Regions from separate parts of the Homo sapiens genome. Here regions 1 and 2 are each linked to region 3. Evidence: promoter capture Hi-C in 16 types of primary human blood cells and fetal thymus (Javierre and others, 2016). All regions are on one chromosome and are shown on one strand. The core of a region is centred on a gene start or on the middle of the fragment in contact, and the rest is flanking DNA. Distances in the headings are between cores, read along the strand shown.

What was found. The method cuts DNA at HindIII sites, captures the fragments that hold promoters and counts their contacts. A CHiCAGO score of 5 or more calls a contact.
Region 1: a contact is called between a fragment that was not itself captured here and the fragment with the promoter of GRK5 in region 3, in 6 of 17 cell types (total CD8 T cells, naive CD4 T cells, total CD4 T cells and 3 more). The highest score is 8.8, in total CD8 T cells.
Region 2: a fragment that was not itself captured here is called in contact with the fragment with the promoter of GRK5 in region 3 in 14 of 17 cell types (fetal thymus, naive B cells, total B cells and 11 more); the score reaches 12.4 in fetal thymus.

Annotation. Positions count from the first base shown.
Region 1 is chr10:119,520,609-119,523,936 of GRCh38, forward strand. The region is part of intron 3 of RGS10 (regulator of G protein signaling 10); the gene reads right to left. Among named protein-coding and RNA genes, the nearest start is that of RGS10, 20 kb to the right of the region's middle. The HindIII fragment of the contact is 8,074 bases long and covers 1-3,328 here.
Region 2 is chr10:119,477,847-119,481,241 of GRCh38, forward strand. No RefSeq gene overlaps it. Among named protein-coding and RNA genes, the nearest start is that of RGS10, 63 kb to the right of the region's middle. RefSeq lists enhancers at 228-297, 1,647-2,226. The HindIII fragment of the contact is 2,942 bases long and covers 306-3,247 here.
Region 3 is chr10:119,206,086-119,209,538 of GRCh38, forward strand. GRK5 (G protein-coupled receptor kinase 5) reads left to right here and starts at 1,486. Exons shown (of 16, transcript NM_005308.3): 1 at 1,486-1,884. The coding sequence starts at 1,833. GRK5-IT1 (GRK5 intronic transcript 1) reads left to right here and starts at 2,336. Exons shown (of 2, transcript NR_186528.1): 1 at 2,336-2,565. RefSeq lists enhancers at 1-72, 183-232, 253-362 and silencers at 703-1,532, 1,743-1,812, 1,863-1,912. The HindIII fragment of the contact is 5,116 bases long and covers 1-3,453 here.

The sequences.
Region 1 (3,328 bases), core at 19-2,518, 310 kb after region 3:
GGATTCAGGGAAATTCCAAATATAGACCCCCCGCGCCAGCAAAATTCTCCTGACACAGTTAATTAGAAATATGTTTAGTTCAGGAACATATCAGGCTTATGGCCCCCCAGGAAGAGACTAGAGGGCCCTTGTCTGGAAAAATAAAAAAGCAGAAAAAACTCAATAGGAGGATCTGAAGATGTAGTCAAAATCTCCAAAAGCAAAAAAAAAAAAAAAATTAAAAAATAGGAAGAATAAAACATGAAATTAAGGGCTCAATGCAGGGCGTGAAAGGTCATCATTGGAAAAGAGACCAGAGACAATGGAAGGAAAAAAAGTTACTAAAATGATGATAACAATAACAACATAAGACCATTTCCCAGAACTACAAATTTCCAGATTATATGGCTCCACAAAGAATTCACACAATGAATGAACTCCGCCTCTGCCTCCAAAGCCCCTGACTGAACAGTTTTAGAATACTAGTGATGAAAAGATCCTGACCAGGTGGAGTGGCTCACACCTGTAATCCCAGCACTTTGGGAGGCTGAGGCGAGAGGATTTCTTTTGGGACCAGCCTAAGCAACATGGTGAGACTGCTTAAACCCAGGAGGTCCAGGCTGCAAAGAGCCGTGACCTCACTATATTCCAGCCTGGGTGACAGAGTGAGACCCTGTCTCAAAAAGAAAAGAAAAGAAAATTGCTGGGCGTGGTGGTTCACACCTGTAATCCCAACACTTAGGGAGGCCAGGGCAGGTGGATCACCTGAGGTCAGGAGTTTGAGATCAGCCTGACCAACATGGCGAAACCCCATCTCTACTAAAAATACAAAATTAGCTGGGTGTGTTGGAGGGTGCCTGTAATCCCAGCTACTTGGGAGGCTGAGGTAGGAGAATCGCTTGAACCTGGAAGACAGAGGTTGCAGTGAGCCGAGATCATGCCATTGCACTCCAGCCTGGGCAACAAGAGCGAAACCCCATTAAAAAAAAAAAGAAAGAAAGGAAGGAAGGAAGGAAAGAAAGAAAGGAAGGAAGGAAAGAAAGGAAGGAAGGAAGGAAGGAAGGAAGGAAAGGAGGAAAGGGGAAAAATAGAAAAGAAAATAGATCCTATACTATCCCAGAGAGGGAAAAAAAGAAAAAAAAAAAAAAACAGAACAGTTTACATATAAATTACTGATTCTCAACAAAAGTAGAAGACTAAGGAATAATGTCTTCAAACTTCTGAGTGTGTTTCACCCCAGAATTCTATGCTCTGTCAGATTATCAGTGAAGTAGGAGAGTAGGGAAAAAAATAACATTTCCACTCAACAAGGTCTTTACATACCTACCTGCCAGACCCCCCTTCTCAGGAAGCTATTGCCAGCTGTGTTTTGGGCTCTTCTCTCATGAGTCATTCTGGAGGGAAGAAGTCATTCTCGTGTGCTGTTCCCAAAATGAGGGAATGACTCAGGAGAGAAGAGGACTTGGATCCAGGAAATGGAATGCCTTCATCCTACAAAGAGGAAGGAAGTTCACCATGTGTCAGGCATGGGTCTAGACCCTCGGAGACAGTGGGGAAGAAGAGGCCCCCCACTCCCAGATTCCAGAAGACAAACCACACAGAAGACGGACAAGTAAATGACATGGATATGTGAAGTTGTTGAATGCTGGATAATCCACGTCAAGGAATGAACCAACACAGGTCCTATTAAAACAACAGAGGCGAGAGTGGGATTTGTATCGACTCCTCAACAGCCTTAGTTGATGGAGAGAGAAAAATCCTCCCATGGTCTCCCTGCTGGAACAGATGTGATAAGTTTGACTGTGAAATCCAGTTAGGTTACGTGCACAACAGAGGATTAAAAAGAACTGGCCGGGCGCGGTGGCTCACGTCTGTAGTCCCAGCACTTTGAAAGGCCGAGGCGGGTGGATCATCTGAGGTCAGGAGTTTGAGACCAACCTCGCCAACATGGTGAAACCCATCTCTACTAAAAATACAAAAATTAGCTGGGCATGGTGGCACATGCCTGTAATCCCAGCTACTCAGTAGGCTGAGGCAGAAGAATCACTTGAACCCGGGAGGCGGAGATTGCAGTGAGCAGAGATCGTGCCACTGCACTCTAGCCTGGGCGAGAAGAGCGAAACTCCGTCTCAAAAAAAAAAAAAAAAACAAAGACATTCAGTTAGGCGACTTCTCCCAGTGCCTATGTTCCTCCACACTTTTTGTAGTAATTTAGAGCTTACTCCCTGGTTTTACTTCCTAGGCAGCGGGACTCACTAGGGAATGCCTGGAGTCAGAAATGTGGCTCTGAATTCTTTTTTTTTTTGTTGAGACAGGGTGTCACTTTGTCATCCAGGCTGGAGTGCAGTGGCGCAATCATACCTCACTGCAGCCTTGACCTCCCTGGGCAACTACAGGCGCACTCCATCATGTCTAGCTAATTTTTTTTTTTTTTTTGGTATTTTTTGTAGAGACAAGGTCTCACCATGTTGCTCAGACTGGTCTTGAACTCCTGGGCTCAAGTGATCCACCCACCTTGACCTCCCAAAGTGTTATAATTGCAGGCGTGAGCCACTGTGCCCAGCCTCGGGCGAGCTGCCGCTTAACCACTCAAGTCATATCCCTGCATCTTCGAATGGGAACAGTGACTCACACTGGGGCCCAAACACTCCAGGCCAAACACCCCAGGTGTCACCAATGCCTCCACCCAATCTGCATTCTCAGGCAGTGACAGGAGGGTGGCATTCATTGCTCTAAAGCAATTGCCGGGTGCATTCCAGGCTTAAGGACACAGACTTTCAAGAAGTCCTATGCTGGGCCGAGTACAGTGGCTCACACCTGTAATCCCAGCACTTTGGAAGGCCAAGACAGGCGGATCACTTGAGGTCAGAAGTTCTAGACCAGCCTGGCAAACATGGTGAAACCCTGTCTCTATTCAAAATACAAAAATTAGCCAAGCATGGTAGCACACACTTGTAATCCCAGCTACTCGGGAGGCTGAGGCAGGAGGATCACCTGAACCCAGGAGGCGGAGGCTGCAGTGAGCCAAGACCTCACCACTGCACTCCAGCCTGGGCAACAGAGTCAGACCTTGTCTCAAAAAAGGAAAAGAAGTCCTATGCTGGATGTCAGGGGTACAGGCATGGAAAGGGGCTGCCCATTCGGAAGCTCTCTCTGTAGGATGTGGACAGGGCAGGGCAACCCAACACCAGACCTGCCTGACCTGAAAGGCTGGAAGAGGCACATTGAAAGTTTGACCCCCTCCTTCCAACCACTCCATTAAAGTCCTACAGGGGCTTTCCCAGCCCTGCTCACCTTGGCACCCAGATTCCCAGGTGTGGCTGCCCTGCCAGCCTGAAGCACAGCACAG
Region 2 (3,395 bases), core at 527-3,026, 270 kb after region 3:
TCTCTGGCTCCCAGTTCTTCCCACCACCTTTCCTATAGGTGGCTTCATCCTACACACTTTGGAGATGGTCATGATACCTTGATGATGACAGAGGGCTTGCACTTCTCCCTACAATGCCATAGATCTAGCCCATTCCTTAAACCGTCTCAAAAAGGCACCTCCAGCCCTTTTAACCTTTGATGCCGTACCCTGTCCTGTTGTTCTTTGCCACAGATTCCAGATTCCTATAGATCCGTGTCACTCATTGTGAATCAAAGCTATTCTGCAGGACACAGAATAAATGGCAGAAAGGGAGGTCACTGGAAAGCTTCATGTAGAATCATAGCTCAGGGCAGGACAGCCTGTGTGCTGCACGCTTGGCCACACCAGCCAACGGTTAAAGAAGTCAGCACTGCAGGGGATGCCCCAGAGAGGGTGAGCAGGAAATTGCAATCTACATAGACCCAAAGGTGCAGAGGAAAGGTCACAGGACCGGGCATCAGAGCCCCCTGCTCACTGCAGGTCTCTCTGTGTGTGTGGCAGGGGCGTGGCGGGGGGAGAGGAACAGGTGTCACATGACCTCTGTCCCTAAGCATCTGAACTGAAGAAGTAAAGAGGTCAGCCAGCCTCCTCCCACTCCAGACCTCTGGGATACTTAAAGTAAGTGTTGCAGGGTTTGTAGCATCTTGGAACCTTTCTTCCTACATCACAGAAAAAAAAAAAAAAAAGTCCAGTGAACCGGTTCCACCTCTTAAGAAACTGTGGTTTCTACAGCCTGAACTTGAGCAAAACTGGAACATCAGAAAATTATTTCCTCCTGCCCCATCTCTGATGTAATAGCAGATCCAGTCCTCAGCTCTGTTTCTATAGAGAAAGCTGGGTGAACGGGATGGGTCTTTATTGAGTTCCCTTTGACGTTCTTCCAAAAAATAGATGTGATTTTCCCCTCTCCCTCCCTCTGTCTCCTTCCATCATCCTTGCCTCCTTTGGACCCATAGAAGGGGGTTCTTGTGGGAAGTGATGATCTCTGAGCCAGGCCCTCTTTCAGATGAGCTATGAAGTTAGTTTGTTTACTTATTTTTTTCATCTAAACCCCAAATACCACAGAACCAGCACCTGCAATTTTTCCTAACACATCCTTTGAACTTGCTGCAAGTTAAACTGTAGAGGTTTCATTTCTCAGTTGTAATTCAGGGTGTCTTCCCCATGCCATTTGCTTCCAAGGAGCAACATCTTCCTCCCTTTCTACCCCAACTCCCATCAACAACTGAAAAAAACGAGAAATCAGAACTTCAGCCACAGCAGCCTTTCCTGGCTCTGTGTGAACACCGTGGAGAGGATACAGCCCTTGACTCCCTGGCCCTCCTCCCTCTCACGTCTAAGCTGGGAACACCATAAACAGTCACAGTGCTGAGCCAGGCAGAGAGGCAGACGGGTACAGCCAGACGGGACAGATGTAATTAGCAGCATCATTGCTTTGGTGTGCAGAATAGATAGCAGAATGCCGCCACCCACATGATGCTTTGGCAAATGTACTGTCGCTCATTTTCACAAACAATTCAATAGGTCTTTTAAAAGTGCCGACAACAAGCAAAGAAAGTCACGGAAAGAAACCAGAGTGACAACTCAGCCCGAGTGCCAAAGTTACTTGAGAGCTGCTCTGGGAACAGTGAAGCCAAACCAACTCCGAGTTCAATCTGATCCAAGTTCAGATGGACAGAGCCTGGCATCCATGGGGCAAGCAGTGGTGCCCGATTCATCGTCAGATAAAGTGAGCTCAGATGCCACCGTGTTCCTGATGTAGCTGTCACATGATGCCTCTGAGTCGTACTTTTTCCATCTGCTTAATGGGCATGTTGATCCTGGTGTGTGTATTTCTAGACTTGCTGTGAGGCTGGCGGGAGGCCACTTGGAAGGGAAAGTCTTTGTGATCTACACAGTGGGGGTCGTCATTAAGGAAGAGCCTCAGGAATTGCAGCCACAAGGACAGTGCCATTCCTAAGGTAAATCACGGGAAGAAGAAGCCTCTTAACCCCACCTCCTACAGCAGCGAGCATTAACTCCTCCCCAGTGGCAATTCCCCAGGCCTCTCTCCTCATGAAGCCCAAGGATCAATGAAGTAACTCTTACATTCTCCAGCACCCACATGGTCCAGTCTCGAGCCATTGTGCAGCTGGAGAAGCACAGTCCAGTGTGTTTTTCTTCTGTTTCCCCAGCACTCTGAAGGAGAGCCCAACACCAAGTTCTAATAATTTATTAATTTTTTTATTTTTAATGCATTTTTATTTTATTTTATTTTATTTTATTTTATTTTATTTTATTTTATTTTATTTTAGAAGGAGTCACTCTGTTGCCCAGGCTGGAGTGCAGTGGTGCAATCTCAGCTCACTGCAACCTCTGCCTCCTGGGTTCAAGCAATTCTCTTGCCTCAGCCTCCTGAGTAGCTGGGATTACAGGCATGTGCCACCACACCCAGCTAATTTTTTGTATTTTTAGTAGAGACAGGGTTTCACCATGTTGGCCAGGCTGGTTTCGAACTCCTGACCTCAAGTGATCCACCCACCTCGGCCTCCCAAAGTGTTGGGATTATAGGTGTAAGCCACTGCGCTTGGCCTTTATTTTTATTTTTAAAAGACAGGGTCTCACTTTGTCATCCAGGCTGGAGTGCAGTGGTGTAATCATGGCTCACTGCAGCCTCAAACTCCCAGGCTCAGACAATCCTCCCACTACTTAGCCTCCCAAGTAACTGGGACTAGAGGCATGTGCCTTCATGCCCAGCTAATTTTTTATTTTTTGTAGAGATGGGGGTCTCACACTGTTGCCCAGGCTGGTCTCAAACTCTTGGGCTCAAGCAATCCTCTCACCTCAGACTCCCAAAGTGCTGGGATTACAGGTGTGAGACATTGTACCTGGTTTGGGAGCCTATTAAAATCCTCATTTCTCTCCTATCCATGTCTCTCACCCTGGCAGCCACCCTGGCACCCCCTTCACTTCTCCCTTCCCTCTTCTGCCCCTTCCTGTATCATGTAGCTTTGCCTGGCATTTTTTCCATGGGCGGAGATGATGTAAGCCAGCTGGCAATGACGGGGTTTTCAAAGGCAGCTGGTAACAGAGGAAGGCTCGCAGACTAATACTTATTACCCCACTGCCATTGTTTCATTTAATGTTGTCCTCAAAGCTCTCCTGGGTTCAAACTTAAAACCCATGCAAGTGTCAAAACAAATCGTGCCTTTTTGAGTATTTTTTTCTCTCCTGGATCTTCCTTTCAAGCTTGTTTCCTACCTTCCCTCCGGGTGAAAATGAAGATTTGAGTTCCTATTTTCTTTCTTTTTTTTTTTTTTTTTGAGACGGAGTTTTGCTCTCATTGCCCAGGGCTGGAGTGCAGTGGCGTGACATTGGCTCACTGCAACCTCCAC
Region 3 (3,453 bases), core at 236-2,735:
TTTTGCAGACAAGATAAATGAGGCCCTGGGAGACTCACTGACCCAAGTCTAGACACCAGGAAGTGGTGGTGGTGGGTATACTCCCCCAGGAAAGCAGGTAATCTTGGGTTGTTACAATCAGTGACCAGACCAGTTTCCAAGGCCTGGAAGGTTTATTGATTTCTTTATATTCTCCAATGCATAATAACTGTTCTCTGTTTCTCTCGGCACCTCCCTGCGACTTCCTGGCAGCCCTGGGGACAGAGGGTTTCCTCCTTCTGGACAGAGAAGGCCCAGAGTCGGCTTCTGAACGGATATCCGGCCCGCAGGATGCAGAGGAGGCAAAGGCCTCATTGTTCTTTGGGGCCTGCCTGCCCCGCCCCCAGCTGTAGGACACTCGTGGCAGATCCCGGGTGACCGAAGACAGCCCATTTCCAGGAGTGGGGCCTTCGGAGCGGAGGGAGCAAGGAAACGGGGCTGAGCACAGACCTGGAGTCTGATGTTCTGAGCATAACACTGGAAGGAGCTAAGAGCCCCAAAATAAATAAGACCGGAATTTAAAAACGTTAATCCCACGCCGGCTTGGCGCTGGCCTGGCTGTTACTCATTAACGCTCCCCACGGCGGAGACTCCGGCGACTCCGTCTGCGTTTTTATTACTTAATCTGGCTGGGTTTGGCTGCAGGGAGGCTCGTGGATTTGCTGGCCGGGTGTGCTGGAAGGCAGTTTATTCACAGAATAAGCAGCTTCCCACGCTGGACCCTGAGCCCCAGGCGCCGTCCGCGTAGACCCCGCGCCGCGCACCGCGGCCGGCGGGGGGCGCTCGGGTCGCACCGAGAGCAGCGCGGGCAGCCAGCGCCGGGTCGCAGCCGACCCGCAGAGCCCTTCGCGCCCTCCGAGGAAACAAAGTGCATCTTTGTCCGCGGCCCGAGGCGCCGCGTGGGAGACGCTGGGCAGGGGCCAGGCCGGGCCGGCCGCCGCCGCGTGCGGGGACCCTGGGCGCGCGTCACTGACCCGGGACTCAGACCCTCGCGGGCCTGGCGCGGACCGGAGGAAGCGGGCTGTGGCGCGCGGCCGAGCTGGCAGCCCTCCCACTCCGAGCACGGCTCGGGACCCGCACTGGCTCCTGCCGGGCCGCGGCGCTTCACGCGCCGTCACCGGGGCCCGTGCACTCCGCTTTCCGGGCTGGCGACGGGGCGGGAAGGGGGCAAGCGGGAGCCTGCGGGGGGGTGCTGGGGACTTCGGCTTGGCTGGGCCGCCTTTGAGTCGCCTGTCGGCCGGGCGGTGCCCGCCTTCGCTTTCGGTGCCGTCCCGGGGCGGGTCCTCGCTCCGACAGCCGCGCGCCAGCCCAGCTCAGCCCCGGCGCCGCGCGGCCGGGAGGACTCCAGCTCCCAGCAGGCCCCGCGCCGCGAGCACCGAGGCAGGAGGCGCGCCTGGGCCGGCGCTTGCGCAGTGCGGCCGCCCGAGCCTGCTAGTACCACACCCCCGGGAGGGACTGAGGGGAGGCAGAAGCATCCGAGGCATTAAAGCATCCGAGGGAGCCGGAGGGGAGGAGAATGGAGTGACAGAGACACGCGGAGGGTGGGGGGTGGGGGGGAGCGTGTTGAGGGAGGGGGGAGGGGGGACACAGAGGGAGGAAGAAGCGGCGGCGGCGGCGGCGGCGGCGGCGGCTCCTCTTTGCAGAGGGGGAAACTCTTGGGCTGAGAGCAGGAATAATGCGGTAGGCAAGGCGGGCTGCTGGCTCCCCCGGCTCCGGCAGCAGCGGCGGCAGCCCGAGCAGCGGCAGCAGCAGCGGCAGCACCCCAGGCGCTGACAGCCCCGCCGGCCGGCTCCGTTGCTGACCGCCGACTGTCAATGGAGCTGGAAAACATCGTGGCCAACACGGTCTTGCTGAAAGCCAGGGAAGGTAAGAGGCAGGGCCGGTACGTGCCCGGCGCGTCCGCCGCGGGCCAGGGTGCGGGTGTCGGGTGGCGTGCGGGCTGGGGCTGCGCCCGTGCAGGATGCCCGCTGCCGGCGAGTGGGTCGCGAGCAGGACACTTCGGAGAGCGGCTCTGCAGACCCTTCAGGGTTCCTGCCTTGGGGCTCAGAGAATCTGGACTTGGGCTGAGAAGGTTGCAGGGATTTGGATGCTAACATATCTCCTAGTTTCCAGCGCTCGCCCTGCAGAGCGTGCCATCTCGGCAGCTGTTGAAAGGTCAGTTGGAAAAGCATTCATTCGGGGAGCGACGAGCAAACATGCACATAAAATAGCGTTTCAAGTCGGCCCGGGATGGTTCTGTGTGAACTGGTGTGTGTGTTCGAGGGGCGGGGGTGGAATGAGCAGAAGCCAAGTCTTTGCCTGCGCAGGCTGAGTTGATATAGACTATTGCTGGAAACCATCCGCTGGGATGTTTCTTAGGGAAATCCCGTCGTGTGGAAGGAAGCCTTTTAAAGGCAAAGTCAGATGTTGAGGAATTAGCCTTTTCATAGAATTATCAAAGGATGGCTGTACAGACCACCTAGAAAATAATTCAGTATTTCAGGTTTTTCTTTTCTGGGAGTGTGATAACTGAAATTGTTAGATTTTGGCTCAGTTAAGAAAAGAAAGGTAAGTGTGCTGGTGCTTTAGATACGTTTTCTATGCAAATCATTAGATTTCCTGCATTTAGCTGGCAGGAAATATTGTCTAAATGGAGTGTGTAAGATCCTGAGTCAAACCCTAAGAACGCATATTTTGACTCTTCCTTTTGATGAAAAACAGAAAAAAGGGGGGGGAGGCAGAAACTTGGGTGCTTCCTGAAATGATTGTGTTGTGTCCATGTAAACATATGTATTTAGGAATACCTGGAATTTATGTCGCATATTTTCCTTTTTTTTTTCTGGTCAAGATTTGAGCTCTAGTGTGCGACCTTTTTCATAAAAGGGGAAGAGGTTTTTCCCTTTCACGGGAGAACGCTTTATTTGATACAAGGTAGAAGGCAGACTGAGTAAGGGCTTGAGTTTAGAAGGATACTCGGTGAGCAGCCCATGAAAATGTCTTACCTGCTTAATATTTTCATTCACCTACTTTGATGAATGAAGGGAAGAATTTCTGGCCAGCAATAAAACGATTCGTGTTTATTCAGCCCGTTCCATCACCTTGTGGCTCCCTACACACTGTGGGGGTAGGTGATGCATAGCCTTCCGTGGGCAGCGTTTCAGCAACTCAACCCGGCATTCGTGTCTTACTTTCGTCGTCACTTGTCACTCTAAAGCAGCCAGTGGGCAAGAAGGTTTATTTCAGAAGCCCCGAAGGGAGGCAGTGCTTTGAAAACCCCAGCAGAGTTTAAAATATTCAGGTTAGTCTCCCTCCCATTGCTTAGCTTTGGTGGGAATAAATTTTTAGGAGAGGCTTGTTACTTGGTGACTTCAGGTTCTAAGGCCTGAGCTGTGTGTGTGTGTGTGGTTTTTTTTTTTTTTTTTTTTTTTTTTTCCTAACCTGACATTTTTAGTGGAC